2 separate regions of the Homo sapiens genome follow, and region 1 is linked to region 2. The links are contacts of gene promoters, found by promoter capture Hi-C in blood cells and fetal thymus (Javierre and others, 2016). All regions are on one chromosome and are shown on one strand. Each heading gives the region's core, a stretch centred on a gene start or on the middle of the fragment in contact. The rest is flanking DNA. Distances are from core to core; before and after follow the strand shown.

Evidence for each region. Contacts are between HindIII fragments. The CHiCAGO score rates a contact against its expected background, and 5 or more counts as called.
Region 1: a fragment that was not itself captured here is called in contact with the fragment with the promoter of USP16 in region 2 in 1 of 17 cell types (total CD8 T cells); the score reaches 6.0 in total CD8 T cells.

What each region holds. Positions count from the first base shown.
Region 1 is chr21:28,885,596-28,888,547 of GRCh38, forward strand. It overlaps the pseudogene HSPD1P7. Among named protein-coding and RNA genes, the nearest start is that of HEMK2, 1.7 kb to the left of the region's middle. RefSeq lists an enhancer at 1-189. The HindIII fragment of the contact is 2,444 bases long and covers 148-2,591 here.
Region 2 is chr21:29,023,150-29,026,140 of GRCh38, forward strand. USP16 (ubiquitin specific peptidase 16) reads left to right here and starts at 1,519. Exons shown (of 18, transcript NM_006447.3): 1 at 1,519-1,628. RefSeq lists an enhancer at 1,395-1,784. The HindIII fragment of the contact is 4,939 bases long and covers 1-2,991 here.

The DNA.
Region 1 (2,952 bases), core at 120-2,619, 140 kb before region 2:
ATAGTGGGCATTCTGAGTTGTTTTTGACTAAGGTGAATGTTCTTTCTTCATTCTAATGATATTTGGAAATTCTGTTTTATTCCTAGTTTGCAAGGATTTGAAAAAATACATAATAAATTTTACTGTTTTTTTGTCAGCTGAACTTTAAGCTTTACGCTATAAAGATGAAGACTTTCCTCGTTTTTTTACTGTACTTTATAAATTGCCTTCCTGATGAATCATGAATGCACTCTTTTTATAAACCTTAAGCAAGATGATGCGGTTTAATACACTGCTGAATTGGGGAGGCTAATAATCTGGCTCCGTTTTTTTTTACCAAGATTACGCTACCCTCGTTATGTGAGTTAGGACACTGTTTCTGGAACATTAGGTAGAAAGCCTTAAAACTGGCTGGGCTTGGTGCCTTTTTGAGTGAATGGATCTTTGATGTTTTGGAACATCTGTAAGTTATTAGACTATTCAAGTATTTGCATTCTTTTTGAGTCAATTTCTGAAATTTGTTTCGCAATGAAACATTTTTACAGCTCGTTTTTTAAATTTGAGAAATAAAAATACAGAAAAGTATTTGAGGTACAAATTTTATTTTATTTTATTTCTACTTATGTATTTTTTTTTTTTGGAGACAGAGTCTCGCTGTATCCCCCAGGCTGGAGTGCAGTGGCGCGAGCTAGGCTCACTGCAACCTCTGCCTCCCAGGTTCAAGCGGTTCTCCTGCCTCAGCCTCCGGAGTAGCTGGGATTACAGGCGCCTGCAGCCACGGCTGCCTAATTTTTGTATTTTTAGTAGAGACGGATTTTCCCCATGTTGGCCAGGCTGGTCTCAAACTGCTGACTTCAGGTGATCCACCCGCCTTGGGCTCTCAAAGTGCTGAGATTACAGGTGTGAGCCTTTAACGCACCCGGCTGGGTTACAAATTTCAAAACCCCAAGTTTTAAACCCAGAAATGACAGTATTTTCTCATGTTTCCTTAAAATATTTTTTAAATACAAGAACTAAAATATTACAAATAAGATGGATGTTCTTTCTCTATTTGCCTTCAGTTTAATTGTGTAACATTCTCTCCAAGGCTCTTATGGATTTAGTGTATGTCCATCTAATCCATGTAAAAACATGGATCTTGTATTTATACGTTTATAAACATTCATATCTTTATAAGCAACATACGGTGTATTTTAAAATTTACATAACTGGTACTAGGTTGGACATATTTTTCAAATTTCTTTTTCAGTCAACATTATATGAGATTTATGTTTTGATATATGGTTAGGTTACTCCTCTTAACTGCCATATAGAATTTTATTATGTAAAAATATGAAAAATATATATATATAGAAAGAGTTGTACTTGATCTCCTGGGTTCAAGCGATCCTCCTCCCTCAGCCTCCTGAGTAGCTGGAACTGGAACCATAGGTGCTCTCGCACCCAGTATTAGGAATATACAAATGTCTTTTTATCCAAAAATACAAAATAAATTATCTGTAGGCATGGACAGTGACAGCAGTAAAACATTATATATTTTGTCACTTGAAACCAGTAACTGATTGTTATAGTGATTTCCTAAACATCTGCTAGCCTTTTCTTCAGTCGTTTTCTCCAGCTGACTTCTCTGAAGTTATTGGTGAGGAATACTGCCTTGGGCTTCCTGCCACAGTTCATTAATTAAAGTAAAACGCTATTCTAATCATTAGAACTTGCCATTTCCCATAACACCTCCCGTTCCACCCATTGCACCCAATACAGGGTCCTTCTCTTTTTTTAGGAATTTCTTTGACTACAACTTCTGCTGTAGTTAACAGGCCACCCCAGCAGCATCCAGTAAAGCACTTCTCACAACCTTTGTTTTGTCAATAATTCCTTTTTTCCACCATATTCACAAAATCTGACCGTGGCATCACAACCAGCTTCTCAGGAACTGCATAATTTTCTGGACTATCAAAGATCCTTCAACACCCGCATTTTTAGCAATAGTCATTGCAGGAATTTTGAGTGTTTTCTTAATAGTTTCTGTACCAATTTTTTGATCTTCATTAGCTGGAGTCAATGAGTCCAAGGCACCAATTCATCGAAGTAGGGTACAACCCCCTCCCAGAACAATGCCTTCTTCAACAGCAGCTCTTGTAGCATTAAGGGCATCTGTAACTCTGTTTTTCTTTTCATTCACTTCAACGTGACTTGTCCCACTAACCTTCAGCACAGCTACTCCATCTGAAAGTTTTGCCAGCTGTTCATTCAGTTTTTCCTTTTCATATTCACTAGTTGTGACATCCAACTGCTCAATGATTTCTTGAATACGTTTTTAAATTTGAGCCTTGTCACCTTTTCCTTTTAAGAGCATAGCATCATCTTTGATCACAGTGACCTCTCCAACTTCTCCTAAGTCATGAGGCTGAACATCTTCAAGATTTGAGGTCAACTCCTCTTCTCCAAACACTGCACCACCAGTAGCAATTGTCATACCTTTAAGGTGGTTCTTTCTATTGTCACCAAACCCTGGAGCTTTGACTGCTACAACCTGAAGACCAAGTTTTCGCCTATTCAAAATGAGTGTACTTAGAGTTTCTCCATCAACATTTTCAGCAATTATGACCAAAAGCTTACGGTGAGCATTGGCAATTTCAAGATCAGGTACAATGGACTGGACACTAGAAATTTTCTTGGAATTCACATTTCCGACCTTTTGATGTATTAATAAAGTATGGAGAAATATATCCTCAAACTTTCATGCCTTCAATAATTTCTTTTTTTTTTTTCTTTTTTTTTAGATGGAGTCTCACTCTGTCACCCAGGCTGGAGTGCAGTGGCACAATCTCGGCTCACTGCAACCTCCACCTCCTGGGTTCAAGCAATTCTCCTGCCTCAGCCTCCTGAGTAGCTGGGACTACAGGTGCATGCCACCACACCCGGCTAATTTTTTGTATTTTTAGTAGAGACGGGGTTTCACCGTGTTAGCCA
Region 2 (2,991 bases), core at 269-2,768:
CAGCCACTGGGGAGGGTGAGGTGGGAGAATCGGGAGGTGGAGGTTGCAGTGAGCTGAGGTCGTGCCACTGCACTCCAGCCTGGGTAACAGAGTGCAACCCGGTCTCAATAAATAAATAAATAAGTAAATAAAACAAAAATTATCTCAGCAGTAAAAAGCAAGAGAGCTAGTTTTCCCCCAAATTTAACCAAATGTTACTCTGGTGGTTAGTATGCCACCATCTTAAACTCCTTTTATCTGATTAGTAAGGATGGACATTTATTTTATGACCAATTGTTCTTTTATGGTGAATTACCTGTTTACATATCTATTTTTCTATAGCTATCTGCAACTCCCCCGACCCCCACGGTAGCGATTACTATCTTCTCTACTAAACTAAGACTCCAGGGCAGAGAGGCCTATGTTTAATTCATTTGAGGAAAGGCTTGGCACAAAGTGTGCACTTACATATTTTCTTTTTTTCTTTTTGAGAGGGAGTTTTGCTCTTGTTGCCCAGGCTGGAGTGCAATGGAGTGATCTTGGCTCATTGCAACCTCTGCCTCCAGACTTCAAGCGATTCTCCCCCTTAGCCTCCCGAATAGCTGGGATTACAGGCGCCCGCCACCACGACCGACTAATTTTTTGTATTTTTAGTAGAGACGGGATTTCACCACGTTGGCCAGGCTGGTCTCGAACTCCTGACCTCACGTGATCCACCCGCCTCGGCCTCCCAGTGTTGGGATTACAGGGGTGAGCCACCGCGCCAGGGCTCGCACTTACAAATTTTCAAAGAATGGACAGTAAATATTTGAAAATCCCCTCCTCCCCCGCAATTTATCTGACACCGTCTTTCGGTTTTGCTTTAAAAATTCACTCTCGCGGCCGGGCGCGGTGGCTCACGCCTGTAATCCCAGCACGTTGGGAGGCCGAGGCGGGCGCATCACAAGGTCAGGAGTTGGAGACCAGCCTGGCCAATTGGTGAAACCCCGTCTCTACTAAAAATACAAAAATTTTAGCTGGGCGTGGTGCCGTGCGCCTGTAGTCCCAGCTACTCGGGAGGCTGAGGCAGAAGAATGCACTCCAGCCTGGGCGACAGAGGGATATTCCGTCTCAAACAAACAAAAAATCACTCGCTGCGTTTTTTATTCTGACATGGTGCAGGAAGGTAAATTCAAGACAACTTAGGTACTCAGTTTTAGAAGTCGACAGGACAGAATTACGGAAACAAATTTAAGCGTTCCCCCTTTTAGCTCCAAATATAATGTGTTCCAGAAAGGTAACCATCTAGGAAACTCCAAGGCTCAGACCACCACCGGATGCCCACACTTCAGGAGCATTTATATAACTTCGTGGTTATGTCAGAGACGAGAAAACCCATTGACAACCAAACCCCTAAACCCGAACATCCGGCGCAAGCCGCACGCAGGCGCAGATTTACTAGCGTCAGAGCCGATGGTCCCGGGAGGTGGGGGTGGGGTGGTGGTGGCCTAGCCACTTCCCATAATGCCGCGTTCCGGAAGTTATTGCTTTCCAGGGGTCACTCTGGCTTCGACTCCGTCGCTCTCAATTCGTCACCAGGAGGAAGACGGAGCTGGCTGCCCAGCCCAAAGGCCCATGAGGGGATGCAGTTATGGGCTCTGTCGCCGTGGGTGAGTTCTGGTCCCACTGCCTGGCAGTCGTCGCTCGCCTGGCTTTCTGCGCTGGGAGAGCTCCTGTTTTCCGCCCCAACTTCGTTCTCTTCTTGAAGGCCGCTCTCCTTAAGCACGTAACCCGGCTACTTTCCGGTACTGCGATCTCATTGGCTGCATGTTCTGTCAGTTCCAGAAGCTGGCCAATGAGATGCCGCTGCTGGCGGCCTTCTCGACCCCGTGGACCCAGAGGTTCCCCCGTGGGATCGGAGCAGTTAGAAGGGGAGGAGAGGGAAGGTGTGGCAGGCGCCGAGCAAATGGGTGGGTGGCGCGTGGCAGGGACTTCCCTATGGGTTGGAGCTGGATTTGCAGCCGTGTTCATACGGCTGGTAGGAAAAGCAGGATCTGTCACTTATCCAATTGACTATATCTAGGAGGGGATTGATATACGCAAAACTTGAAAGCCACGTTAACACCTGCTGACAAAGTTTTCCACACGCTTACATTTTTAATGGAACCGAGTAGGCAGGGGAAGACTGGGAGGGCAGAGAGTGAAGAGACTTGGAATAATATGAGAACCGGCAAGACTATCTTTGATTTAGATTTTGTATGGAGTCCTGCGAAGAGTCATTTCACTAAGACGTTAATGCTCATCCGATGACACTACTTGAAAAGTGTATTAAGTTTATTGATGTTTTATAGCTGATGGAAGTCACAATATGCTCTCCTCATGACTCATTAGTTGCCTTTATAGTTGTCAGAACTTTACTGAGGCTCTTTCCGCAGCACTGGAGTGACCCCTCTGTCCTCTGCCTGCAGTAATTAACAATTCGTCTTTCAAGTTTTCCTATGGAGTCTAAGCTGCTGCAATCCTCAAACCAGATTTACTAGTGCTGTCTTCACTACTGCAGACTTCTGACTTCTCATTTTTCACCCTTTTCTTTTTCACCAGAACTTGTTTGCTTCATTCTTATGTACCTACCTTTGCACCTTGTAATCATCCTTTATGCCTCAGGTACTATTCTATTTTTCTATTTCAATGCAAGAAGTATTTCTTCAGGACCTGCTATGTACTAACATTATGCTAGATATTATAGGCAGTTCCAAAACTGTGCTTGAAACCATTTATTTTTCTAAGAACTTTAGATTCTGCTTACAGAAATAACATAAACCCAGATTAAAGATTTAAGAAATTCACTAGAATATGGGATAAGGGGACAAGATGACTAGAGCATACCATAAATACTGGGGAAGTTCAGTGGAGAGGTTTATTTAGAGTAGAATGATTGTCTAAGGCTTCCTTGAAATGGAGAGCTTCCAAGATTGGTAAGATTTAGATAGAATATTACAGCTAGAAATCAAAGACATCAAGGCGGGGAGGGTA